Regions from separate parts of the Homo sapiens genome. Here regions 2, 3, 4, 5, 6 and 7 are each linked to region 1. Evidence: promoter capture Hi-C in 16 types of primary human blood cells and fetal thymus (Javierre and others, 2016). All regions are on one chromosome and are shown on one strand. Each heading gives the region's core, a stretch centred on a gene start or on the middle of the fragment in contact. The rest is flanking DNA. Distances are from core to core; before and after follow the strand shown. Region 1 holds the start of REPS1 (RALBP1 associated Eps domain containing 1). Region 2 has its middle 15 kb from the start of CITED2. Region 3 has its middle 33 kb from the start of CITED2. Region 4 has its middle 6.1 kb from the start of CITED2. Region 5 overlaps LOC102723690 (a long non-coding RNA gene). Region 6 has its middle 30 kb from the start of TXLNB. Region 7 has its middle 86 kb from the start of NHSL1.

Region 1 (3,807 bases), core at 665-3,164:
CGTTCAACTTAGTCATAGTTAATGCAGACTTAACTTCTAAAACAGAGACCTGTGTGTGGACATTTTTATTCTTCACAGAATTTTTGTTGGAAGAAACTTGCCTTCATTCTGTGGATGAACATACTTATGCTTGAAAATGGAAAGTGCCTGACCCAAAGTCACACTGCTGGTTAACAGCAGAGTAGGGTCAAGGACCCAGCCTTCAAAACCCTGGTCCAATGCTTTGCAGTCCACTACATACACCTATACATGTGGCTTTAAATTTTGGAGATGTGGATAACTAGCTTGGATCAATATAAAAGATGAAAGCTTAAAACCTGTTCCTAACATACTGTTTAGACAGACTCCTACTAGCAGCTATGAATCATTAAACAGAGTAGCATTAATGCTCACCACATACATTAGATAAGAACTTCTAGGAAGTCCTCTGTTTCAAAAGCAGATATGATAAAAAAAGGCTTTAAACCTACAGGGTTTGCTCCTCCAGGGCTTCAGATTAGGGCAAATAACGCACTTCTGCCTACCAGCTGTTCAATACTCATCTCCCAACCCAAATCCACAAGTTCCACAAATGCTTTCGAATGCCTGTTGAAAAACATTGTTCAGTCTCATCACATACACACGTTCTACAGATAATTACAACTTCTTGTATGCCTACTTGTAAAACTACTAAGTAGTTCACATTTTAAAAAATTTCCCTAAGAATTTTGCTTCCTTTAAAAAAACTGCTTCTTCGATTCCTAAATCTATAGAACTCACTTTATCACGTCTTCTCGGTTAATCCAAGAATTAAAAAAACCATTTTGCCCATACTGATAACTTTACTACTCTGCAGGATCCGAAAAGCTCTCTATATGCCAGGTTCTAGGATTCACACACATTAACAACCTAAGATCCTTCAAGTGAGATAGCTCTTGCAGTACAGAGCACAGATTCTCAGGGTCGTGGGGGATACCGGCTGAGGCTCTTCAGACCCCCACCACAGGAGTTCCGTCCTCTAAGGGCAACCCCCTCCCCCTTGGCCGCGGCGCGAGTCCAGGCCTCCCGGGCACCTGCGGCCCCTGCCCGCTGCGGGGACCCCCCGAGGAACCAGCCCCCCGCCGGGCCCCAAGGAATCGGCGCCCACTCCCACTCCTGGAGGCCAGTGACTGCAGGCCTAAGCCGCCCGCCGGCCCCGGGACGCGACGTTACCTGTAGGACCACGTCGTTCGGCAGCTGCGCGGCCCGGAACAGCTCCAGCACCCGCCCGTTGACCACCACCTTCTTGGTGCTCTCAATGTCGCAGTAGGAGAAGAGATCTGAATAGTATTTCTGCTCCGCATCGCTCAGCGTTAAGCCTTCCATCTTCGCCTCCGGCTCACGGCCGCCCCGCCCCGCATGCACTACTCGGGGCCCGGCCCCAGGAACCTGGGCCGGCAGGGGCTGCGCGTGGCCCGGCCTCCTGCTAGCTTCCCGAAAACGCCGGCCCCGGCCTCACACGCGCCAGGTGCGCCCGAGCAACAGGGCCCGGAGGTCGCGAGGAGGGGGCCCGGCTGCGCTCGCCGCGCCGCTGCCTGCGAGGCCCGGCGCGCGGCTGCGGCTGCGGCTGCGACTACGGCTCCGGCTCCGGCTCCGGCTCCGGCCGCGGGGAGGGTGCAGAGAAAGAGGCGGGGGCCGCGGAGGCGCGAGGCACTGGCGGACTCCGCCCCCGCCGCGGGTTCGAGTCTCCCCGGCTCCCTGCCGATTCCCCCAGACTTCCCGCCTCGGCTTCCCCTTCCGTCCACGCCTCCGGAGCGGCAGCGCTTCCCGGAAAGTTGTGGGGCTTCGAACCTAAAGTTTCGGGGGATCTGGGCTGAGCGTGGCCGCCGCTCCGCCTCCCTCCGCCGCCATTTACAGTGCCCCGGCCCGGCCCCGACGCGCCCGCACCAACAGTGACAGCGGCGGCCGCGCTCCAGACCCGGATGTGAGGCCGGGAGGAGAGAGCGCGAGAGGGAGAGAGAAACACCCACCGGGCTGGCTTGGCCGCTCCCGGGAGAGGGAGGAGGCCGCAGCGCCCCCTGGTGGCCGGCGCCCGGCGGCGGGATGACCGAGCCGCCCTCTGCGCGGAGATCTCAGCAGCAAGACCCCCGGAAAGGGGGGTGCAGTGGGAAACAGCCGGCAGCTCATTAAGACCGAGATAACTAAGATCCGGGTTGCAGTTTTTATGTTTCGCAGTTTCTGGTCCTAAGCGTCTGAATAATTGGATTGAAAGGGGAGCCTTGTTCAGGTTATTATCATTCTATCTGTACCTTTTCGGTACAGATGAAGATAAATGCAGTATTTCCATCTGTTCTGAAGGGCTATGAACATCCGGGCTATGAACATCCTGGCTATCCGGGAAGCCTCCACGTAGACACCAACATTGAGGCTTCATCTCACTCGTGCTTCAAGCCATGTTTACCTGAGAAACAAAATGTGCTGAATAGAGGGGAAAACTGGCAAAGTTGTCCTCTTTGTTCACCAGGTCATTCCGGTCACTGGGAACTTAATACTCTACATTTATACCTTCAACTCTATCAACTCATGTAGGCCCGGGGCTGCCCACAGGGGCTGCCTTCCGTATTTTCTCCTTTATGAAAATCATGGAGTGGCGCTCTTTTAATCTGCACCTGTCCCAGAGAGGGGATTCTTCAGCTATTTCAAGTAGAATATCTTAAGAATTTATACTTAGCAAATATAAAATACTTCAAAGACGGGAGCTAAGGCAGAATTACCCAGAGTTCTGGTTTTTATTTTGTCTTCTACAAGTTGTTTCCCAGAGTGCGGATCCTATAAATGACACATATGAGGAAATTATTACAGGTTCCCAGTCATTTATCTGTAATTGCAAAATTCAAAGCGCACTGAAAACCCAAAGACTTTTTTTTGTAACCCTTTGGAAGTAAAACCTGCCCTGCCTCATTTGGAGGCAAAATCTAAACTAAGCTTGCATGAAGCTATTTCTAGCCTTTATGGATCCCACTTAGTGTCAATATTTACTCATTTCACTCCAGGTCTTTGTAGAATGTTAATATGTACACAGTCACAGGCATTCTATTATCTTTCTATTTTTTAAGAAAGATAAGGGATTTTAGACCTGTCAATGTCTTCTGACTTGACTAGTAGTATTTGATAAAGGTAAGTATATACTATCCATTAAGCTTATTTCCCATCTCTAAGACTTTCAGTTTGCTACAGCAGCCCCTCATGTGTCCTTTCAGGGCACCTGCAGCAAGTGATCAGACCCCCCCCAGACAGCTGCCTTCCAAAGGTGTAAACAGAAAGAGCACAATGGGGTAGGGATTGGCTCACAATTGTCTTTGCATCTTTTTCTCTGCCACCTCTCCTAGGCCTTGCAGCTCTTGTCGGCCCCAGGGCCTTTGTTCCTGCCATCTAAAATAGTCCTTCCACAAACCATGGCATGGCGTATTCTCTCATATGGTTTCAGGTCCCTGCTCATATGTCACCTCCTCAGAGCAGCCTTCCTGCAACAGCTGCTGTAAAATAATCCCACCATGCACTATCCCCTTATCTGAATTCCTTTTTTTTCTCTTTTGAGACAGAGTCTCCCACTGTCACCCAGGCTGGAGTGCAGTGGCATAATCTTGGCTCACTGTAGCTTCGACCTCCCAGGCTCAGGTGATTCTCCCACCTCAGCCTCCCAGGTAGCTGGGACCACAGGCCCAGGCCACCATGCCCACCTAAATTTTGTGTATGTGGCTTTTGTAGAGACAGAGTTTTGCCATGTTACCCAGGCTGGTCTCAAACTCTTGGGCTCACCCACCTCAGCCTCCCAAAGCGCTGGGATTA
Region 2 (3,696 bases), core at 1,070-3,569, 370 kb after region 1:
AGTCCTCAGTTCATCCATGGGAAGCTCCTAGGGTGGTCTCCCAGAATTGTCCCAACTTGACGAGAGAGCCAGGCCTTTATTCCAGACACTGTATGCAGGCTGCCTCCAGAAGGGGTGTGACCTTGAGCAAGGTGGTGAGGAAATTCCAGAAGAAGGTGTCAGTTGAGGGCCATTTGCTGACAGTATTCCCAGTAATGGAGGGAAGAAGTTCTTCAGTCCTGAAGGGGGATTTGAGCAGCACTTCACAATGTCCATTACTTACTGTAATATTGGTGCAAGACAATGCTAGAAGCCTTATCCAAGGAGAAAAAAAGTGAATTTTAATACAGACATGTTATATCTCTCATATTGTTTCCTGAAAAGATCATTTTTAAGTGACTTTGAAAGTATACATAAAATAGAAGTCCCTCCCAAACATATACTTCAGGAAAATATTTAAAAGCAAGCAAGCAAACAAACAAAATACAGTGGAGATGAAAGTTGTGTTAGTATTAGTATGATTAGTCAAGATAATTTTGTTTCATGTGTTTGATCACAATTCAAATTAGTTCTGGAAGGGAAAATTTTATTGTCTCTCGTAACCAAACTTCAGGAAGGGTTAAGTTGCACCTAGACCTCAGGGACTCAGATAGTAACAGATTACCTTTTTGTTTCTGCTTCTTTCTTCATATTTTCTGTTGATACGGTTTGGCTGTGTCCCCACCCAAATCTCATTTAGAATTGTAGTTCCCATAATCCCCATGTGTTGTGGGAGGGACCTGGTGGGAGGTCATTGAATCATGGGGGCAATTACCTCCATGCTGTTCTTGTGATAGCTGAGTGAGTTCTCACGAGATCTGATGGTTCTCTCTGCCACCATGTGAAGAAGGACGTGTTTGCTTCCTCTTCTGCCATGATTGTAAGTTTCCTGAGGCCTCCACAGCCATGCTGAACTATGAGTCAATTAAATCTCTTTCCTGTATAAATTACCCAGTCTTGGGTATATCTTCTTAGCAGTGTGAATACAGATGAACAGAGTGTGTATTCTCCCACACTCACTTCTTTCACACGGCTGGAAGTATGGCTAACAGCAGTTTACAGGCTCATAGTTTCATCACTAAAGAGGACTTAAAACTTGATCTCTCTGTTGTCAAGTTAAAAGCTCCTGGGGGAGGGGGAGGAATGCAAATTAAAACCACAGTGCAATACCACCTTACTCCTTCAAGAATGGCCATTATTAAAAAGTCAAAAGCAACAGATATTGCTATGGATATGGGGAAAAAGGAACTTTTATGCAGTGCTGATGGGAATGTAAATTAGTACAACCTCTATGGAAAACAGTATGGAGATTCCTTAAAGAACTAAAAGTAGATCTACCATTTGATCCAGCAACCCTACTACTGAGTATCTACCCAGAGGAAAAAAAGTCATTACATGAAAATAATCTTTGCACGTGCATGTTTATAGCAGCCCAATTCACAATTGCAAAGATGTGGAACTAGCCTAAGTGCCCTTTGACTAATGAGTGGATAAAGCAAATGTGGTATATATACACCATGGAATACTACTCAGCCATTAAAAGGAATGAAATAATGTCTTTGCAGCAACTTGGATGAAGCTGGAGGCCATTATTCTAAGTGAAGTAACTTGGGAGTGGAAAACCAAAAACCATGTGTTCTCATTGATAAGTGGAAGCTGAGCTGTGAGTACGCAAAGGCATACAGAGTGATATATTGGACTATAGGTACTCAGAACAGGAAAGGTGGAAGGGGGGTTAGGGATAAAAAACTACACATTAGGTACAACGTACACTACATGGGTGATGGGAGCACTAAAATCTCAATTCACTGCTACATAATTCATCTGTGCAACAAAAAACTATTTGTGCCCCCAAAATTACTAAAATGAAGAAGAAAGGAAGAAAGCTAACTCCTGTGGGAAGGTTTCTGTTGGGTCAGTGTTATCCACAGACCAATTAGCTGCAGCCAGAGGGTAAGATGAAAGTGTGATGAATGTTTCAACTGGGCCCATCTGGGCACCCCTAGCCATTCACTGTGCCCAGGGCACATAGGATTATGGGAATTTTCACATGGACGTATGTAACTAAAGTGAAAAAGTGGCATTTTGTGGAAGGGTAGGACAAGCAATGAGTAGACAGAACAGAAGATGTTCACGGCCATATATTAGAGTTTTCTTATCTTCCGTGTTTGAATCTTGTCAGGCTGTTTTTATATTCTTTTTGGCTTTGTCATACGGACCAGTGCATTTATTATGGAAATAGATTATATAGCTATCAGTAATTTGTTCATAAATATTAGATTCTGTTCATTTTGCACAGAGATTAATCACCTGCCAAAATGTACATGATTTTCTTGGTGCAGAAAAATTACTTATTAGTCATATTAACAAGGGAATATCAAACATATTTTGAAGGGCTAGAAATGAAGACATAATGACCATATACTTCTTTTTAATAGAATATTTATTTATATTAACAAATGTTGCTTTATAGAAGACATTTCAACCTTAATCAAGTAAACCCTCTCTGAGTGATTTATGATATAATTTTGTTAGCTATATATGTCTTTATTATATGAAGAAGATTTGGAAAAAAAAAAAACTTTAAAAAGAGTCCCTGTCAATTACAGCTTAAAATCTATGCCTTGAAACAGAAATTTTAGAAAAGGTCTGCTTCGCTGTTAACTCTTCTGGTGATGGAGTTGTCAGTTTAATATCCATTTCACACCGAGGTGATTAAGTCAATTGTGATAATTCCACCCCATGGTAAAACCAATCCCAGTGGTTGGTTGGTTCAGAAATTGGTCCATGACATGATACATGAAGAAAAGGATGGTTCTGGAGAAAGTTTTCTTTTCCCTACTTGTCACGTGAGCTCTGCTCATGCCACCTGTCACCGGTCCACGGTGCGGCCAACACTGACGACAGCCCAGGAGAGAGATGAGAGAAGCCTGAGTCTTTGTGGACATTATTGATCAGTGAATTAATCAACCCTGAAGCCTGCCCTTGCCTTCTTGACTTTTGACAGATAATAAATGTATTTCTCATGGTTTAAGCCAGAATCAGGATTTCTATTATTTGCAGCTAAAAATTTCTTAATAGATATGATTGCAAAGTAGAAGAGAGAAACTTATTATCAAATAATTGTAATACTGTGTACGTAATCCATACAAACAGAGGTATTTATAAGGTATAGGGGTGCTGCAAAGTAGGGAGGTATATGAGGAAGTTTCTCAGAGAAGAAGATACTTAAGGTGGGTATTGAAGGACATTTCAGCAAAGGAATGAAGATGAGGAAGTGCCTTTTGGGCAGAGGGAGCAGCATGTGCAAAAGCACAGAGTAATAAAATAGATATTCTCAAAATCCCTCAAGTTAGACAAATTACAAAAGGCATAGACACATCTTACAGGAACTGTGGGTATGGTGGGTGCTAATCAGGAAACCAGGAAGTTGCCCGGGACAGATGTGTCTTCCCTCTCCATCTATCTTGATTTAGCACCAGATGGTCTCTTACTATTGCTTTGTTCAGGCAATGTGTTCCACTCTCCCGCTGACTTCTGCAAACCAGTTTCTCTGCTCTTCAGTATGAGTGCATGGCTTCCAGAGGACATTACAGGGTCAATATTAGATAATTTCACTAAAAACACCTCCATGCTTTCTTTGACTATAGTTTCTCTGTCTCTTTGTTGGAGTTTTCC
Region 3 (4,094 bases), core at 1,299-3,798, 350 kb after region 1:
ACAGTTACTTTGAGAAAATCAGTGAAATTGGTCAATCTCTGGCTAGACTGATCAAGAAGAAAGAAAATATATATGGAGAGAGAGTACATTTCTTATATGCAGCATATAGTTTGGTCTTCTGTTTTTTTCTTTTCTTTTCTTTTCTTTTTTTTTTTGAGACGAAGTTTCACTCTTGTTGTCCAGGCTGGAGTGCAATGGCGCGATCTCAGCTCACCACAACCTCCACCTCCTGGGTTCAAGTAATTCTCCTGCCTCAGCCTCCCAAGTAGCTGGGATTACAGGCATGTGCCACCATGCCCAGCTAATTTTGTATTTTCAGTAGAGACGGGGTTTGGTCAGGCCGGCCTCGAACTCCTGACCTCAGGTGATCCGCCAGCCTGGACCTCCCAAAGTGCTGGGATTACAGGCGTGAGCTGCCGCACCCGGCCCTGTGTTTCTTTTCTGTTTGACAATCTCTGACTTTTAATTGAGATGTTTTGACAAAGTTATATTTAATGTGATAATTGATAGATTCAAGTCTGTCATCTTGCCATTTGTTTTCTGTTTGACCCATCTCTTCTTTTTCTTCCCTTTTCCTCATGTCTTTGGTTGAAGAACTTCCTTTGATATTTCTTTTTTTTTTTTTTTTTTTTTTTTTTTTTTTTTTTTGTGGTGAGATGGAGTCTCACTCTGTTGCCAGGCTGGAGTGCAGTGGCGTGATCTCAGCTAACTGCAATCTCCGACTCCCGTGTTCAAGCGATTCTCCTGCCTAAGCCTCCTGAGTAGCTGGGATTACAGGTGCGCACCACCAAGCCCAGCTAATTTTTGTGTTTTTAGTAGAGATGGGGTTTCACTATGTTGGCCAGGATAGTCTTGATTGCCTGACCTTGTGATCCACCCACCTTGGCCTCCCAAAGCACTGGGATTACGGGCATGAGCCACTACGCCCAGCCTGACATTTCTTATAGAGCAAGTCTGTTGCTGATAAATATTTTCAGCTTTTGTATATGTGAAAGAGTCTTTATTTCACCTTAGTTCTTGAAACATATTTTGCTTGGTATAAAATTCTAGTTTGACAGTTTAATAATTTTTTTGTCAGTACATTAAAGATGTTGTGTGTCACTGTCTTCTCACTTGCATTTTTTCTTATACGAGATCTGCTATAGTTCTTATCTTTGTTTCCCTAAATATATTGTGATGTTTTTCTCTGCTTTACAATGTTCTATCACTTGTTTAGGAAAATTTAATTATGATGTGCCTTAGTGTCGTTTTCTTCACATTTCTTGTGCTTTGGGTTCATTGGGCTTCTTGAATATGTAGATTTATGCTTTTCATTAAATTTGGAAAATTATTGGCCATTATTTCTTCCCATTTTTTTCTGTTACCCTCTCTCTTCTTTTTCAGTGACTTCTATTACATGTATATTAGGCATCTTGAAGTTTTCCACAGCACAGTGATACATGGTTTTTTAAATGTTTATTCTTTCTCTGTTTAATTTTAGATAATTTCTATTGCTATGTCTTCATATACACATATACACTAATCTTTTCTTCTGCAATTTCTAATCTATTTCTTAAACTCCTTATATATATATATATTTTTTTTCTTTGAGACGGAGTCTCGCTGTGTCGCCCAGGCTGGAGTGCAGTGGTGTGATCTCAGCTCACTACAAGCTCTGCCTCCTGGGTTCATGCCATTCTTCTGCCTCAGCCTCCCGAGTAGCTGGGACTACAGGTGCCCACCACCACACTCGGCTAATTTTTTGTATTTTTAGTGGAGACAAGGTTTCACCATGTTAGCCAGGATGGTCTAGATCTCCTGACCTCATGATCCACCTGCCTTGGCCTCCCAAAGTGCTGGGATTACAGGCTTAAGCCACCACACCTGACCCCTTAAATATATTTTTAGGCTGGGCGTGGTGGCTCACACCTGTAATCCCACCACTTTGGCAGGTTGAGGCAGGAGGATTGCCCAGGAGTTTGAGACCAGCCTGGGCAACAAAGTGAGACCCATCTCTACAATTTTTTTTTTTTTTTTTGAGACAGAGTCTTGTTCTGTTGCCCAGGCTGGAGTGCAATGGCACAATCTCGGCTCACTGCCACCTCTGCCTCCCTGGTTCAAGTGATTCTTCTGCCTCAGCCTCCTGCATAGCTGGTATTACAGGCGCTTGCCACCATGCCTGGCTAATTTTGTATTTTTGGTAGAGACAGGGTTTCACAATGTTGGCCAAGTTGGTCTTGAACTCCTGCCCTCAGTTGATCCACACACCTCAGCCTCCCAAAGTGCTGGGATTACAGGCATGAGCCACTGTGCCTGTAATTTTTTTTAATTAGCTGGGCATGGTGACATGTGACTGTGGTACCAGCTACATGGGAGGTTGAGGTGGGATGATTGTTTGAGCTTGGGAGGTTGAGGTTGCAGTGAGCCATGATTGTGCCACTATACTCCAGCCTGGGTGACAGAGTGAGATCTTGTCTCAAAAATATATATATTGTATATATAGTGGTAAAAGAATCTACATAAAATTTGCCATTTTATCCATTTTTATGTGTGCAGTACAATGGTGTTAAGTATAATCACATTATTGTGAAACATCTAATTTGCTTCTAATTTCATCCAATGAATTTTTCATCTCATTTCTAAAATTTTCATCACTAGAATTTGATTTAGGTCTCCTCTATATCTTTCATGTCTTTACTTAACTTTTGATCATTTGAAAAACAGTTACAATAAGTGTTTTAATGTCCTTGTCTGCTAATTCTAACATCTAGGTGGTTTTCAATTGACTGACTTTTCTCTTCATTAAGGGTGGTGTTTTGCTTCCTTCATGACTGGTGATCTTTTATTTTCTTTCTTTAAATTGTGTTTTATTAGATTTGAGATCCTGATGTATGGTAATCCTTGATTGAATGCTGGGCATTATAGATTTTTTCCTTGTTTGGTGCTGGATAGTTTCATATTCCTAAAAAGACTCTTGGTCTCTTCTTGGATGGTAGATTGGAGACATTGTCAGCATGCTTCTCCTCCTTGGAAAGACACAATAGTGTGTAGTGTTTCACACTGTGAATTTTTCTCCAAGAAGCAACACAGGAACTAAACAGGAAAACTGAAAGAAACCACAGGCCCTTTGAAAGAAGTGGTGGGCTGCAGCCTACACCATGAGTCAGGTGAAAAACTAAGTCTGCAGAATCTGAAGGGGGATAAACTGCCTCCAGGAAATACACTCCCACTGGGGAACCAGTTAATCCAGTCCATGGGGGAAGGCCTTAACCCTACTGAGTGCTGGCATTGATTTAGGGATTGATGTGGCATATAAAAGCAGGGGCAGCAGTGGGAAGAGCCTTGTGTGCATTCCCAGTCTTCAGCACAGACTAAGGGAAGTGATTTTTGGTCCTACCTCACAAGGGACTTCCCAGAAGTCTGCCAACTAACTCAAGTGGTGGTTGCACGTTGAGAGAAGCTCCTAGCTGAAATTCATGATATAATTTCAAGTGGGGACAGACTCCCTTGGCCAGAACTGGGGGCAAGTGGGAAGTGTGCTATAGCCACAAGTACAGGAGCTGGGACTGGGAGGAGCATGTCCTGAAAGCAGCTGTTGCTGTCTCCACAGGGAAGGCTTATGGGCTGGGGCAGTTTTGAGTTTTAAGTGCAGATTGCCTGGAACTTAGCTAGCTGATGCTAGTGTAACACTGCAAGTATGAGAGACCTGCCTTTCTTTTTTCTTTTCTTTTTTCTTTTTTTTTTTTTTGAGACGGGGTCTCACTCTTTCTCCCAGGATGGAGTGCAGTGGAGTGATCTTGGCTTACTATAACCTCCGCCTCCTGGGATCAAGCAATTCTCCTGCTTTAGCCTCCCAGGTACCTGGGATTACAGGCATGTGCCATCATGCCCGGCTAAGTTTTGTATTTTTTGTAGAGATGGGGTTTCACCATGTTGGCCAGGATGGTCTCAATCTCCTGACCTCGTGATCTGCCTGCCTCGGCCTCCCAAAGTGTTGAGATTACAGGCATGAGCACCGCGCCTGGCCTGCGACCTGCCACCTGCCTTTCTAAGCGTGTGGGAGCTGGGTAGGCTTACTGTTGCCTGCTATTCCCCACTCCCTGTGAAACTCTTCT
Region 4 (4,010 bases), core at 832-3,331, 390 kb after region 1:
GAGGTGCATACCTGTAGTCCTAGATACTGGGGAGGCCGAAGCGGGGGGATTGCTTGAGCCCAGGAGTTCGAGATTGCAGTGAGCTGTGATCACACTACTCCACTCCAGCCTTGGCAATAGAGTGAGACCTTCATCCCTTCTACCAAAAAAAAGCTGGAGGTAGAAAAGTCAAGTGGAAAAGGAGAACAGCAGCTTACCTTTGTCTGCATTGTGGCAGCCACTTGGGCAAAACTGTTATCTGTTTGGGAAGATGACTCACCTGGGCATCACTGACTGCTGAGTAATGGACAAAGGTCCCCATTGGTGTGAACTTTTGACTGAAACAAGTTTTTAGAGGTGAGTCTCTGGCTTTAGCTAAAACCTGAATTGAGAAAAGGCTGACTGAAGGACCCAGCTTCAAAAAATATATTGAAAGACCTCATACTTGTGTGGTGCAGCTAGGGAAGGGAGGAAGGTGAGATTTAGCACTGTATTTTGTACGTTATTTAAATTATCTCAGCTGAGGGCAGTGACTCATGCCCACAATCACCAGCACTTTGGGAGGCTGAGGTGGGAGAATTGCTTAAGCCCAGAAGTTTGAGACCAGCCTAGGCAATATGGCAAAACCCCAGACTCTACAAAAAATATGAAAAGTAGCTGAGCATGGTGGTGCATGACTGTAGTTCCAGCATCTCAGGAAGCCGCGAAGCTGAGGTGGGAGCATTACTTGAGCCCAGGAGGTCAAGGCTGCAGGTCGAGGTCGAGGTCGTGCCACTGCACTCCAGCCTGGGTGACAGAGCAAGACCTTGTCTCAAAAAAAATAAAACCCAAAAAACAAAACAACAAAATGAAACAAAACCCCAAAGCTCACTTAATCCTCAATGTAAGGAGTAGGGATTACTTTCATCACTTTAGTAAGGAGGACTTTGAGTCTCAGAGAATCTTTTAAAAATAAAAATAAAAACAATGAAAAACATGGCCACCTTCTCAGAAGGAGAGGAATAGGGAAAAGAGGAGAGAGGTAGCCAGAGAGTCTGTTAACACATGATTTAATAGTGACAGAGGCCCTATATGCAACCTGGTGTTATCTGCAAACTGAATAATGTCTTACATGTAGTATATATGTCAAACTGAGATGTGAATATCACTTTTAAACATGTAAACTTGGTTCTAACTCATAAAATACAAATTCACTTGAAATTATTACCAAACTCATAATAGTTTTTCTGTCTTTAGGTATTTTTTCATTCAAGAGAAATATAGCCATTATCACGTAGAGGTCAATGAAATGTTTGTATTAAAGGGTCTTTAAATTGATGAAGTTGGTACTATCCCGCTTGAGAATTTGATTAAAATAAATATTTTAGGATGTCATTCCTGGAGTTCTTGATTCATCAGGCTGGGAGTGGGGCCTGAGGAGCTGTATATTTTTTAAAAGCTCCCGGTTGGTTCTGATATTTAGCTAGGTTTGCAAACAGCCAACCTTGTTTATAGGTTGATGACAACTGGGGTCATTCTCACAGGGTTCATGGGTGTACTGTGAACCTGGTTCACACTCATAATGTCCAGTTTCCCTGGACTGCCACCCGTTTCCTCTCCGCCTCCCGCCCATGACTGGAATTTTGCCTGTCTTTGAAGGCCCAGCTCAGATGACATTTCCTCTTTTTTAGCCTCCCCTGATCCCCTAGATGGCAAGAATTCTGGCTCGTTGGTGCTTCCAGGGCAATTTACTCAGATCTTCTTTTTTGACCTATTCTGACTTGAGTTATGGGTATTTGTATTCTTCTGTAACCTTCTCTGTGATGGCAGAGGTTCCCAGGTGAGCTCCAAGGGGCTGCAAAATGTCGTGCACAGAATAAGGTCAACCTTCGACAGATGCCTCTCGACTTACCATGGGGTCATGCTCTGATAAACCCCGTTCTATAAGTTGAAAACATCATCTGTGAAACCATCATAAGCCAGGAGCATGTGTATAAGTTTGCTAGTGCTGCTAGGGCTGCCATAACAAAATATCAGCCTGGGAGGCCTAAATAACAGAAATGTATTTCCTCATAGTTGTGGAGGCTGAAAGTCCATGATCAAAGTGTCAGGACCCCTCTCCTTGGCTTGCAGATGGCTGCTTCTGGTGTGTCTTCACATGGTCTTTCCTCTGTGCACAGGAAACCCTGGTGTCTCTTTCGTGTGTCCAAATTTCCTCTTCTTATGAGGACATCAGTCAGATTGGATTAGGACCCTCCCTAATGTCCTCATTTTAACTGAATCACCTCTTTAAAGACCTTATCTCTAGTTATGGTTACATTCTTAGATACCGGGAGTTAGCTGTCAGCAGAGGAATTTGGGTGGGGGTACAATTCAGCCTATATAACACACGTCACATATAGATTCTTTTTTAGATAATTGGCATTTTCTTAGTCTGCAGCTTTAACAATAAGCTAGAGAACATTCACATTGGTTTTGAAGTTGGATGAGGTATGTTGGAAAGCAGAAGAAAAATTCAGTGACCTTAAATAATTAGAAAAACACTCTATCAAAAACAAGATTATGTTCAATAAGAAAAACTGCAGAGGCTTCACGAGGACAATAACAAATTACATGGGTATTGGATGGGAAATTATTGAGTAGATATAACAAGTTCAGCCAAAAACCAAACCAAAACAAAACTGCGGGTCCTCCTAAGCTATTGGTTGAATCAGAGGCAGCCACGGAATGCTGTTATTGAAAAGGACACAACTCGGAGTATATCAGGAGTGAGAATCACATGACAGAGCTGGAAGTAATCCTTTTGCTACACTGGGCTCTTCTGAGAGATCATGGTTAGTTTGCAACTTTACCTTTTAATAAAGAGTTACCAAAACCAAAGAAAGTTCATTGAAAAAAAAAAAAGGAAATATATTTTTAAAGGGACGGGAAATGGGACTTATAATGGCTATTTAATCTGGGGAAGAAAAAGCTGACAGGTGACTTAATACATATGTTCTGGTCTACATAGAGGAAAACTAATATGGTGGATCCTTTCCAGATGTTTTCCTTTTCCACTGAGACAAAGAAAAAAGGAAGGCGTTTTTAAAAAGAGAGCTTTAGATCAGTGGTTTCCAAATTTGTGTTCTGTAGATGTTGTGTATTCTCAGCTTCACTTTTAAGTGCTTTATATATTAAGGGTTTCTGTTTGTTTTAAAAACATATTGTTCTGATGTTAAACAGTTATGAAAACTAATGCTTTGGATAATACATAAAAATCATAGAATTCTAGTGTGGGTAGGACTTTTAAAAATAATCTTATCCAAACTCCTTCCTTTTCTAGATGAGAAATCTGAGGTCCTGAGAGGTTAAGTGACTTGCTCATAAAGGACTTCCTAACCATCAGGATTTAAAAACACTGGTATGGATTATCGGAGCAGACCAAGTCTTTATGAAGACTTCACTGAAGTGAAATAGAGATGTGTTGAGTGGTTTTTTAGATCAGCGTTTCCCAGCTGATGTTCTATATTATAGGTGGATAGGATTGCAGAAGACAGTAATAGAATCTATATCAATTTCTACTTTTAAAACAGTGGGAATTAAAATCATTTAAAAGTAGTTTTCCAGTTCAAAATGGAAGTTTGGGGCTGGGTGCAGTGGCTCACGTCTTTAATCCCAGCACTTTGGGAGGCTGAGGCAAGAGGATGGCTTGAGCCCAGGAGTTTGAGACCATCCTGGGCAACATGGAGAGACTTTGTTTCTACAAAAAAAAATTTGAGGCTGGGCACGGTGGCTCACACCTGTAATCTCAGAACTTTGGGAGGCTGAGGCGGGTGGATCACAAGGTCAGGAGATCGAGACCATCCTGGTTAACATGGTGAAACCTGGTCTCTACTAAAAATACACAAAATTAGCCAGGCGTGGTGGCGCACACCTGTGGTCCCAGCTACTTGGGAGGCTGAGGCAGGAGAATCACTTGAATCCAGGAGGCGGAGGTTGCAGTGAGCCAAGATCACGTCACTGCACTCCAGCCTGGTGACAGAGCAAGATTCCATCTCAAAAAAAAAAAAAAA
Region 5 (4,017 bases), core at 334-2,833, 310 kb after region 1:
ATATTATTTCTAGTAAAGAGCAGATGGACTTGCATAAATAAAATAAATAGTTTGAAATTTGTATAAATATTGGGTGCTACACTTGTACTTGCAAAGAGCCCCACCTCTTAAGTAGCCTTATTACTCTTACATTTTTATATTAACAATTTCATCATGAAAGTCTTCTTATAAATAATGCAGACAGATTCTAGGATAGGCTCCTTTATACCAATTCTCTGTTGAATTCAAATTAATATGACATTGCTGCATGCATTCTACAGGGGACATTTGGCTCATGTCAATATTTGCTTCAAGGAAGATCAGAATAAGGTGTGTTATTTTGCAGGAATATTGGACCTCCCCATCTTTGAAGAGCTCTTCCTTATCCCATTGCTGGATGTAGTAGAGATTCAGAAGCATAGAACTGCATGTTGACTTGTTCATGCAGAGTGTCCCCTGAGGGTAGAGTTGGATTTTAGTGGCTACTATGGGCTGCAGCAATGACATTCCCCTAAAGCAGACTCCACTGTTGCAACCCCTGCATGCCAGCAAGAGGATGTGAAGGTCAAGTGATTGGTCCTGATTAAAGTATGTGATATAGTTTGGATATTTGTCCCCTCAGAGTCTCATGTAGAAATTTGATCCCCAGTGTTGGAGGTGGAGGCTTTTGGGTCATGGAGGCAGATCTCTCATGAATGGCTAGGTGCGAGTCTCTTGGAATCAAGTTCTTGCTCAATTAGTTTCCACAAGAACTGATTGCTAAAAAGCACCTGGTACCTTCCTCCATGTTCTCTCCTTCTTCCTCCCTCTTGCCATGTGATGCCTGCTCCCCTTCACCTTCCACCATGAGTGGAAACTTCCTGAAACTCTCCCCAGAAGGAGATGCTGGCACCATGCGTCTTATGCAGCCTGCAATACTGTGAACCAAATAAATATCTTCTTTAAATAAACAACCCAGCCTCAGGTGTCCCTTTATTGAAACACAAACAGACTAAGACAATCTGTGTTGCCATTGGCTTGTTCCCATTGGCTGGCCCCTGGCTGCTCCTGGGGAGGGGAGGGATTGCCTTGTTGCTGCACATGGGTAAGAAAGCCCAGCTGGCGTGTGAATATTCAACAACCCTGGGAACAAAAGTTGCTGAACTCGAAGGGCTCATGTCACCCTTTTTGTGGCATTCTGCTTCCTTTGGCTCATGTTCCCTGTAAGAAACTTGGGAAACATATCCCATCTGAAAGAACTCTGGCCACAAGATACCCAAACAAACCTTACTAATGGCAAGAAGAAGGCAATAATGCAGATTAACTGAAATGTCAACTGTTAATAGTCCCAACTTTGAAGTCCTCAGGCCACCCATGGTTTTGGACTGGGACCTCCTGGACAGGGATGTTTCTTCCTTCCCTCCCCTCTTCTCATTCCTCCTTGTCCTAGGGTTTGCCAGCTATCGTGGGGTCTGCAGAATCTTGGTGAGGGAAGGGACCTCACAGATCATCTCCCCACTTGGGGAGATGCCTGGCTGAGATGCCTTGTTACCTAACTCCAGGGGTCACTGTTCAAACAAAATAGATGTGGGACCCCCTGGGTTTGTGGAACATAGTGTTCCTAGACTCAACTTGGGACCTTGATACTAGACAGGACTTAGAGGTCCTGTCTAGAGCCACCCTGATCTGTCCTTAGGTAGATGACATTTGATGAAAAAAAAAATGGCTCTTTTAAATAAGACAGTACTACTTGCCAATAGTTAAGTCTCCAAAGATGATAGATCCATGATGTTTTACCATACAAGCACTGTGACTCCTTTCAGAGGTTTGATAAAAGCATCCCTTTCAAATAGCCTTTTTGAGGTTTTCTAACTAACTAACTATAAGGTTCATTTTTCTCTTCTCTGTCTAGTATGACAAGTTCTTTTGATTCCCCTCCCTAAGGGTCAGAAGTTCTTCTCTCCCTTACGTGAGTGTCATGAAGCCCCTCCTCCCCTGCTGATCACAAAGCAATTCTCAGGAAGGGTCTAAGGTTGAACTTGTGTTGAAAGGAAAGCCTGTCATTTTGATGTGTTAGAAAACAGGTGTGTGGTGGTCACCTAGTTCTGAGCTGGTGGACACTCCTCTCCTTCCTTCTTGCAATGCAGTTCTTATCAAAGAGCATGGACTAATTTTTAAATTCTATGTGTGGTCTTTTTCTCTGTAACAATTTGGTGTGGCTTTGATAGGATGTAGAACAACGCAACCTGGGAACAGCAGAGATGGTCAACAGGATTGGGACTGAGTGAGCAAATGCTTAGACTCCTGCTACCTTGCCTCTTTATCTTCCCAATTATGTCTCTTTTTTCCCTCCCTTTCATGGTGAGGGGATGCCTAGGCTAATTGTCCATTGATAGGCTTAAAGGGAGCCCATTACCTGAACCTGTCTGCCTTTCGAAAGGCTTTCAGAGCCTTTCTGCTCCTAATGTATCTTATATGACTCCTTTGTCCTTAGAAGAGAACTTCAGCTGGGTGCGGTGGCTCACGCCTGTAATCCCAGCACTTTGGGAGGCTGACGTGGTGGATCACAAGGCCAGGGGTTCGAGACCAGCCTGACCAACATGGTGAAACTGCGTCTCTACTAAAAATACAAAAATTAGCCAGCGTGGTGGCACGCGGCTGTAATCCCAGCTACTCAGGAGGCTGAAGCAGGAGAATCACTTGAATCAGGGAGGCGGAGGTTGCAGTGAGCCGAGATTGCACCACTGTGCTCCAGCATGGGTGACACAGCGAGACTCCATCTCAAAAAAAAAGGGAATAACTTCCCTTGTGTGTTCCTTAATTCAAGCTCAAGGACTACAAAGGAAGCACCACATCTCTTCTATTCTTCTTTAAACTGTTTCAGGGCCCCCATTCTGTATAAATTTGGAATTGTGCCAGTTAGGAGCCCAAACTGTAGATGGATCCTGGCTGAGATGCCTTGTTACCTAACTCCAGGGGTCACTGTTCAAACAAAATAGATGTGGGACCCCCTGAGTTTGTGGAACATAGAGTTCCTAGACTCAACTTGGGACCTTGATACCAGAAACTATGGCTAGGCGAAATCATGGTCTCTGTGGAAAGGACAAACTCCTAGTTGTCTTTCTCATATATACCCAAGAGAGGTTGCAAAATCATTAAAAAATATGAAGGAAAAATTGCAGGGAAATTTTCTTGGGTATCTGTATAGTGCCACCAAATACAAAAGATGACATCTTAGATGACCTTATTAGGGTGAAAATATTACTATTATTAAAAGTAATAATACCTGCTACTGGTGACATGAGTGTGTGAGTAAGCCTCTGCAACCTCCATTGTCCCCTGAGTTCCAAAGCTACCTTCCTATGAAGTCCCCATAAACCTCCATATATCTTTCCTCTAGAACTGCCAGGAAATCTTCTATAGATGGTCTGGAAAAAAGAGTAAGCTCTTGAGATGGGATCACTAAGTCTTCCATGGGTTAGAAGAGCACACCTGAGATACAATGGGTTTGGAATCATCAGAGTCCTCACCGAAGAAAGTGCTGTACTCTAGTGCCCCACACAGAATGGGGCAACAAGCCCCCACCAAGTCTATGCACAGAAATCAATGCTTCCCCTGCCTGACCTTTACTTTCACAGTAACTTGATATAGATAATAATGAACTAATCCCCACCCCCCTGACCATAGTACATATTTTAGTATTCATTTAGTACTTAGTAAGCAACTCTGTGTATATTAATAAAAAAAGACTTGTCCCGTCCCCTAAAACAAAACAAAACAAAAACAAAGCAAAGCAAGGAACCCTTGACAGGCTGATAATATATTACAAGTCCTTAGAATTAAAAAATTTAAATTCAGAGATCTTAGGATCTAAAGAATGAATGTTTTTTGGGGTGGAAAGCAAACAAAAATATATATATATTCTTAATTGAAACTACGATGCTTTATTGGGTAAAAGCATATGATAAAAAATGTATTTGAATATTTTGCTTAGATGAATTTTTGTATATTTAGCTAAAAATAAGATGGTAGCATACATGTAGGTATATAAAGTTGAAT
Region 6 (4,034 bases), core at 36-2,535, 330 kb after region 1:
TCCCTTAAATAAAAGTTACTTAAGTAACTTCTAAGTGGTGACTAAGCCTATATGTTTTCTAAAATTTTGTATGACACATAGGTCCTAATTCATCAATTTGGGAGTAGACAATTACATTATATTCTTACTCATATTATCGATTTTGAGCACTAATCTATTCTTCCTTTAGGTTTCTGTTTCCAAATAATTTCTGGAAACCACAAGGAATATTTACAAAATCAGTGAGACAATTGCCTTCCTTGCTAGCTCGTTATGAGTTGATATTTTCAGTCCTAGAGGAACACAACTGTTGCCAGTGAACTCAAGTTTCCTTCACTAAAATATTACCATCACCAAAAATCCAAATTCATGGGACTGGGTTGGAGACGAGACACTGGAAATCAAATGGGTTCCTTTTTATTTCGATTATCATTTACTTAATTTGTAAAACTCCACTTTTGGGGAATTTTCTGTAGGCAGAAAATTTTCTAAGCATATAATCTCATTTTTTTTTTTTACCAACCTAGAGGTGAGCAGTGTGATTGTTCCCATTTTCAAAAGACAAATCTGTGGCAGAGACAAGTTATCAACTTGCTCAAGACTTTCTAGCTCTGCACTGGTACAGACATGATTCTCACTCAACAAGGTGACTTCAGAGTCTATATCTCTCCCATGCTACATAGGCACAAGTCATTGGGTAACACTTCTAAGAAAGCTCTTCTGCCCTTTCCCACTTTCTCCTTCTTCTTACCTGAAGCAGATGTATTTGTTAGAGCTACAGTGGCCATATTCCACTCTAAGGCAACTGTGAAGATGAAAGCCATGGGCTTGGGACAGCACAGCAGAGAAGTAAAAGGAACCTAGATCCCTGTTAATGTCATGCACCTGCTTGCTAGGCCTGAAATACTCACCTCCAGACATCCATGTTCTTTCAGACACTATTATTTGGGTTTTCTACCTTATCCAATGGATTGAATCCTGATACTAGCCTGTCAGTGTAGAAGTGCCCCGGGGTTCCGTCACTGGACCTTGCTATTGTCTGAATGTTGGTGTCCCCTACAAAATTCAGGTGTTGTAATTCTAACCCCCAAGATGATGGCATTAGGAGATGGGGCCTTTTGGAGGTGAATGGGTCATGAAGGTAGAGCCTTCATGAATGGGATTCGTGCCCTTACAAAAGAGGCTCCAGAGAGTTGCCTTGTGCCTTCTACCATATGAAGATAAAGTGAGAAGTCACCATCTGTGAATCAGAAAATGGGCTCTGACCAGATACTGAATCTGCTGATGTCTTGATCTTGGGTCTCCCGGCCTCCAGAACTATAAGAAGTACATTTCAGTTGTTTATAAAATACCCAGTCTATGGTACTTTGTTATAGCAGCCCACATGGGCTATGACTGAGCTCTCCTTTTTTTTTTTTTTTTTAATCTATGGAGACTTCATATACAGAGACTTCTGAAAACTTTTACATTTATGTCTCTAGCCCAGACTACTCTCTCTTTTTTTTTTTTTTTTTTTTTTGAGATGGAGTCTGTTGCCCAGGCTGGAGTGCAGTGGCACAATCTTGGCCCACTGCAAGCTCCACCTCCCGGGTTCACACCATTCTCCTGCCTCAACCTCTCAAGTAGCTGGGACTACAGTTTCCCACCACCACGCCTGGCTAATTTTTTTGTATTTTTAGTAGAGACAGGGTTTCATTGTGTTAGCCAGGATGGTCTCGATCTCCTGACCTCGTGATCCGCCTGCCTCGGTCTCCCAAAGTGCTGGGATTACAGGCATGAGCCACTGCGCCCAGCCTCTCAGACTACTCTCTTGAACTACAGATTCATTAATTTTTTTTTTTTTAAGATAGGCAGAGTTTTACTATGTTGCCCAGGCTGGAGTGCAGTAGCTATTCACAGGCACCATCATAGCACATTAAAGCCTTGCACTCCTGGCCTCCAGCAATCGTCCCACTTCATCCTTCTGAGCTGCGACTACAGGTGCACCACCATGCCTGACTTCACAGCCTATTGACATCTCTGCTTCGGCATTATCACTGCTGGGTTGCACTGCTATAACAGAATACCACAGAGTGGGTAATTTATAAAGAACAGGCATTTATTTCACACCGTCCTGGAGGCTGAGAAGATCAAGATCAACACCCTGGCATCTGATGAGGGCTTTCTTGTTGCATCCTCACATGGCAGAAGGTAGAAGGGCAAGGGTTGGGGGGACAAGTGTTGTGTCCTCACACTGGCAGAAGAGCAGAAGAGAGTGAACCCACTCCTGCCAGCCCTTTCCATAGTGACATTAATCCATTATTAATCCATTCATAAAAGCAGAGCCTTCATGAACTAAACACCTCCCATTAGGCCCCACCTCCCTTCTAAAGAAATTCCTCCTCCAGTCTTCCCCATTATAGAAAATGGCAACTCCATCCTTTAGTTACTCAGATCAAAAATTTGGACTCATGCCTGACTCCTCTCTTCCTTTTCCATCCCACATCTGATCCAACACAAAAGTCCCATTAGTTCTATCCTCAATACGGTGCAGAGTTCAACCACCTCTCATCCAAATTATCTTAGTAACAACTGCCTTCCCGGCCACTCCCCTAAAATATCGATGCCTCCCCAGCCCAGCTTTATATCCCCCTTGTTCCTTCTTTTTCTGTAGAAAAAACACACTGCACATTTTCTGTACATTTTACTTATTTGCTGTGTTTATTCTTTGTCTCCTCCTCTTGCCTGTATGTTGCATGGGGGCAGGCATTTTCGCTGGGTTTTCCCTGCTGTTGAATCCCCCATAAACAGATGCTAATTGAATAGTGGCTTCCCCAGGACAGAGGCCCATGGGGCTATCAATTTTCTAAATGTCCATTTCCCTAAATCCCTTTATCTCTTTTGGATCTGTCCTCATTTTAAAATAAGAAACTAGCATTTCTGTGAACTGACTAGGAATAATTTCAATTGTCATTTCAGTAAGAAGTTTCATTTTGGACCAGTGACTATGATTATCCTTCCTTAAATACATAGGAAATCATTTTGTTGGTGTTGACATTGCACGAGATGAAGAAGGGATGGGGCTCAGTGTGTGGTTTGGGCTCTTTTGTTTGCAAGAAACCTCTAGAGATGTATTATAGTGACCCCAAGAAAAAGAATTTGTTTAGTTTTTTTTTTTTTTTTTTGAAACGGAGTCTCGCTCTGTCGCCTAGGCTGGAGTGCAATGGCATGATCAAGGCTCACTGCAATCTCCGCCTCCCGAGTTCAAGCAATTCTCCTGCCTCAGCCTCCCGAGTAACTGGGACTACAGGTGCGTGCCACCACGCCCAGCTAATTTTTTGTATTTTTAGTAGAGACGGGGGTTTCACAGTATTAGCCAGGATGGTCTCGATCTCCTGACCTCGTGATCCGCCCGCCTCGGCCTCCCAGAGTGCTGGGATTACAGGCGTGAGCCACCGCGCCCAGGCTTGTTTAGTTTTTTTATTTACTTATATAATAATAAAGAAACATGTGGACCTGGGCTGGGGACAAGCAGGAAAGTCACCAAGAATCACGAGGCACGTGGTTTCTCTCTGTACATCTGCTGCATTGTCTTCTCTAGGCTTACTTACCAACTTCCGCTGCTTACTCATAATTTCTGTTTCCTCTTCGTTTTTCCGGGGCCCTAGTTTACCTCCGGGCTTCCGTTGGCATCAGCTTCCATTCCCCTACATCTGATGGCTCGGCCCCTGTTTCTCAAAATTAGGCAGCTGTGGTTTACAACAGGGGACAGTCAACAGATTGCTCCAGTCAGTGCTCATCCCCGTCCTTTCTGCTGTGGTCAGGGTTTGGAAAGGGTCCCATAAAGCAAAACACGCCCCCAGAAGCTTTGCGCAGGGAAGGTAGATAGGAGTCACGCCCCTCCCCCATTGTCATCGCCATAGAAACAGGTTCCTGTTTATTCAGATGACTGTCTGTTTAACTGTTTCAACTCCACTTTGACTTGGAAAAGTGTTCTGGGATACTGACATTGTTTTATGATTCCCATCTTTGACTACCTTATTCTAGCACCAAATGTTAAACATGCAGCCCATTAA
Region 7 (3,646 bases), core at 79-2,578, 400 kb before region 1:
CCAGGACCCGGCATACAGTAAGCACTAAACTGATGTTTGTTAAACTGCACTGGTCCATCATATGCTGTTCATCGTCATGTTCAACTCTCTCCTGACAGATGAACTCAAGTTTCTTTACTGGACCTCCTTTGATATTCCCCCACATAATCTAATCTGGCTTGATTAGATACAGAGCCAGAGAGCATATATTTTAAGGCTTTGTCAACTCTATAGTCCCCACTGCAACAACTCAATCTGCCATATGAGGGAGGCCAAGGTGGGAGGATCACTTGAGGCCAGGAGTAGGAGAGCAGCCTGGACAACAAAGTAAGACACTCCCCACACCCCACCTCCCACCTCGTCTCTACAAAAAATAAAATGAGCTGGATGCGGTGGTGCTCGCCTATAGTCCCAGCTACTCAGGAAGCTGAGGCAGGAAGATCATGTGAGCCTAGGAGTTTGAGGCTGCAGTGAGTTATGAATGCACCACTGCACTCCAGCCTGGGCAACAGAGCAAGATTTTATCTCAAGTAAATAAATAAATAAAATAATATTAAAAACCTTCCACTGACTCTGCAACTAAAGGAACCATAGACTTGGTATCTCTTATAAACTAATTCACCTGATCCTTTTCCTACAACCTTGTTTGTGTAATTAAATGAACACTTCACAGCTGGATATATCTAAAAATTGATCTCTATTGCAAATTTGATTAAGGGCATAGCTGTTTGTGTTTCTCTCACATACTGTGTATTAAAATTTCACTCTTTTAAAACTTAAAAAATTTAAGATGACTTTATCTTTGTATGTTTTTCTCTTCAGCTCTACACTTTTTTACAGCCATGTGCACGGCCAACTCTCCCGACAGTCATCAAAATCCATAAGTAGAAGGGCTATTTAGTGAAGGGGAATCCAATTTCATAATGACTACTTCAGTGGTCCCTGTGCAATTACTTTTGTTACAGTCTTAAAGTAATGAACTTATTCAATAAGGAGAAATGTAGAGAACAAAAGGCCTAAAGAACACTTAAGACACTCAGACACTCGGAAATTTGAGGTTGAAACACTTGTTCCCCAGGACCAAAACTGGGTGTGTTAAATCAAGACAACTTCTATTACCATGAAGATATGCCACCACGAAGAACTTCAAAGAAGGACGAAGTACCTCTACAAAGTAAACACCACGCCCTTTCCACTGATGGCAGACTGAAGTGGACTGATGGAGACTGGCGAGCACAGACGGAGACATTTGTTCCAGAGATTCTCCTTCCTAATCGTCCTCCTCCCAGCCCAGCCACGCAGGCATTTCCCTGAAACACAGGAAGAACTACAACAGAGCTGCCGCAAAATGCACCTGTGTGGGTAAGGACCACAGGGCCTTAACAGCTGTACTCACCCTTGGCTCTCATTTCTCTCCTTGAACCCCGGCATGCTACAGACACCCGGGCCTTTATTTCTTAGAGTTGTTATGAAAACTAAGTGAGAAACGCACATTATTAGCACTCAGTAACTGATAGGTTATTTTCAGCAACAGCAGGAGCAGTCCTTGAAATAGATGTGGCTGGTGGACCAGCACAGATGATTGGCTAGGCTGGAAGCAGATGATTAGTTACACCTGGTGTGTACAGGGAGCGAGAGGTGAGCTGGGATTGAGAGTCAGATTCCCATCAGGAAAATATTTCCCATCAGGGAGATATTTCACTCATGCCAGAATTATGAGGAAAAGAAGTGAGCACCCAAGTCTCACCTGTAATAATACGATTCTAAAAGTGACCAACTTGTGTCATTTCACCTACTTGTGAGGCATATTTTTCTTCACTAAAGGATGTGAGGCAAGGAATGGTTCAAAGAAGAGTGTGAAATTCCGACAAGTTAAAGGAAATTACTACAAAAATAGCACAAATATAGCTACCTTACCTCATAAGGAATGTCAGTTATTTTAAACGACTGAAAAATTTTAAAAAATTGAAAACTCCAAATTTGGTCAAACTTCTCTCTCTCTTATGTTCCATCCTAAAGTTTGTTTCACTGGTAATTTTTCTAAGGAAAAAAAAAAGTGAACACAGAAGAAAAATACCAGGCACTGAATCGCTCCATAAAATACACACCACTGGTTACAGTTGATAAGAAAATGCTTAGTTAAAAGTGAGTTACATTTCAAAATAGGGGGAAAAGGCAAGGAATGTTAGCTCACACCTATAATCCCAGCGCTTTGGGAGGCTGAGGTGGGAGGACTGCTTGAGGCCAGAAGCTCAAGACCAGGGAAACACGGCAAGTCCCAGTCTCTACAAAAAAAAAAAAAACTTAAAAATTAGCTGGGTGTGGTGGTGAATGCCTATAGTTCCAGCTACAAGGGAGCCAGAGACAGGAGGATCACTTGAGCCCAGGAGTTCAAGGTTGCAGTGGAGCTGTGATTGTGCCACTGCACTCTAGCCTGGGCAACAGAGCAAGACCCCAACTCTAAAAACAAAAACAAATAAATAAGAAGAAAAAGTTAATAGTGTCAAAACCTTTTTTTTTTTTTTAGATGGAGTCTTGCTCTTGCCCAGGCTGGAGTGCAGTGGTGCAATCTTGGCTCACTGCAACCTCCACTATCCAGGTTCAAGAGATTCTCCTGCCTCATCCTCCCAAATAGCTGGAATTACAGGCACCTACCACAACATCCAGCTAATTTTTGTATTTTTAGTAATGACAGGGTTTCACCATGTTGACCAGTCTGGTCTCGAACTCCTGATCTCAAGTGATCTGCCCACCTTGGCCTCCCAAAGAGCTGGGATTACAGGCATAAGCCATTGTGCCCAGCCCAAAATCTTTAATTTATAACATAGTCCAACATCAGTTATTCAGCACATAGGGAATTATAGCAGGGTATAGCCTACACTTGAGGTACAGTAAGTAACATCACTTAAGAAGTAACAAAGCCACTTAAGAATTAATATGTCAATATATGCTCAGCCACTTCCAGAAGACACACCCTTTACAAAATAAGATTACAATGAGGTCTGAGGAAAGATTAAAATCTAATTTACTTAACTAGGGTAAGCTTCATAATAAAGTCTACCTAGAGAAATCAATAGTCTCATCAAATGTTCTGCCACCAGCCTAATAAAGGTAGTGGGGAGAGTGTGAAAGAGGGGATGATCAGTAAGCATGTGCAGGTTTAGGATCCAGAGCCAAGCACAGGGCTTGGGACACTGTGAGTACCCTGTGTTTGACAGCCTGGTGCTGCTCAAAAACAAACCACACAGGATGGGCCAGGCCCAACTGAAACTGCATCAGTGCTTTCATTCTCACCCATGGCTGAACATCAGAGCCATCTTTCATAAAGGTTCTTATTCAATAGGTTATGGGTAGAGTGGGTTTGAGTTTTCTCGTTGGGCGCGTGTGTTTTTTTTGGGTGGGGATGGAGTCTCGCTCTGTCATCCATGTTGGAGTGCAGCGGTACAATCTCCGCTCACTGCAACCTCCGCCCCCTAGGTTCAAGCGATTCTCCTGTCTCAACCTCTCGAGTAACTGGGATTACAGGCGCATGCCACCATGCCCGGCTAATTTTTGTATTTTTAGTAGAGGTGGGTTTTTGCCATGTTGGCCAGGCTGGTCTCAAACTCCTGATCTCAGGCGATCCGCCCACCTCAGCCTCCCAAAGTGTTGGGATTACAGGCGTGAG

Evidence for each region. Contacts are between HindIII fragments. The CHiCAGO score rates a contact against its expected background, and 5 or more counts as called.
Region 2: a fragment that was not itself captured here is called in contact with the fragment with the promoter of REPS1 in region 1 in 12 of 17 cell types (naive CD4 T cells, total CD8 T cells, total CD4 T cells and 9 more); the score reaches 16.9 in naive CD4 T cells.
Region 3: a fragment that was not itself captured here is called in contact with the fragment with the promoter of REPS1 in region 1 in 7 of 17 cell types (naive CD4 T cells, total CD4 T cells, non-activated CD4 T cells and 4 more); the score reaches 6.4 in naive CD4 T cells.
Region 4: a fragment that was not itself captured here is called in contact with the fragment with the promoter of REPS1 in region 1 in 3 of 17 cell types (fetal thymus, total CD8 T cells and non-activated CD4 T cells); the score reaches 7.8 in fetal thymus.
Region 5: a fragment that was not itself captured here is called in contact with the fragment with the promoter of REPS1 in region 1 in 3 of 17 cell types (fetal thymus, naive CD4 T cells and non-activated CD4 T cells); the score reaches 7.4 in fetal thymus.
Region 6: a contact is called between a fragment that was not itself captured here and the fragment with the promoter of REPS1 in region 1, in 3 of 17 cell types (fetal thymus, total CD8 T cells and naive CD8 T cells). The highest score is 5.8, in fetal thymus.
Region 7: a fragment that was not itself captured here is called in contact with the fragment with the promoter of REPS1 in region 1 in 1 of 17 cell types (megakaryocytes); the score reaches 5.9 in megakaryocytes.

Annotation. Positions count from the first base shown.
Region 1 is chr6:138,986,339-138,990,145 of GRCh38, forward strand. REPS1 (RALBP1 associated Eps domain containing 1) reads right to left here and starts at 1,915. Exons shown (of 20, transcript NM_001286611.2): 1 at 1,192-1,915. The coding sequence starts at 1,344. RefSeq lists silencers at 1,417-1,716, 1,907-2,146. The HindIII fragment of the contact is 2,634 bases long and covers 308-2,941 here.
Region 2 is chr6:139,357,922-139,361,617 of GRCh38, forward strand. No RefSeq gene overlaps it. Among named protein-coding and RNA genes, the nearest start is that of CITED2, 15 kb to the right of the region's middle. The HindIII fragment of the contact is 9,947 bases long and covers 1-3,696 here.
Region 3 is chr6:139,339,979-139,344,072 of GRCh38, forward strand. No RefSeq gene overlaps it. Among named protein-coding and RNA genes, the nearest start is that of CITED2, 33 kb to the right of the region's middle. The HindIII fragment of the contact is 6,456 bases long and covers 1-4,094 here.
Region 4 is chr6:139,378,701-139,382,710 of GRCh38, forward strand. No RefSeq gene overlaps it. Among named protein-coding and RNA genes, the nearest start is that of CITED2, 6.1 kb to the left of the region's middle. The HindIII fragment of the contact is 6,226 bases long and covers 1-4,010 here.
Region 5 is chr6:139,298,154-139,302,170 of GRCh38, forward strand. LOC102723690 (a long non-coding RNA gene) reads left to right here. Exons shown (of 5, transcript NR_197427.1): 5 at 3,359-4,017. It also overlaps a transcript of TXLNB not described here. Among named protein-coding and RNA genes, the nearest start is that of TXLNB, 8.2 kb to the left of the region's middle. The HindIII fragment of the contact is 6,162 bases long and covers 1-4,017 here.
Region 6 is chr6:139,320,158-139,324,191 of GRCh38, forward strand. It overlaps a transcript of TXLNB not described here. Among named protein-coding and RNA genes, the nearest start is that of TXLNB, 30 kb to the left of the region's middle. The HindIII fragment of the contact is 5,074 bases long and covers 1-3,822 here.
Region 7 is chr6:138,583,612-138,587,257 of GRCh38, forward strand. It overlaps a transcript of NHSL1 not described here. Among named protein-coding and RNA genes, the nearest start is that of NHSL1, 86 kb to the left of the region's middle. The HindIII fragment of the contact is 3,383 bases long and covers 1-3,020 here.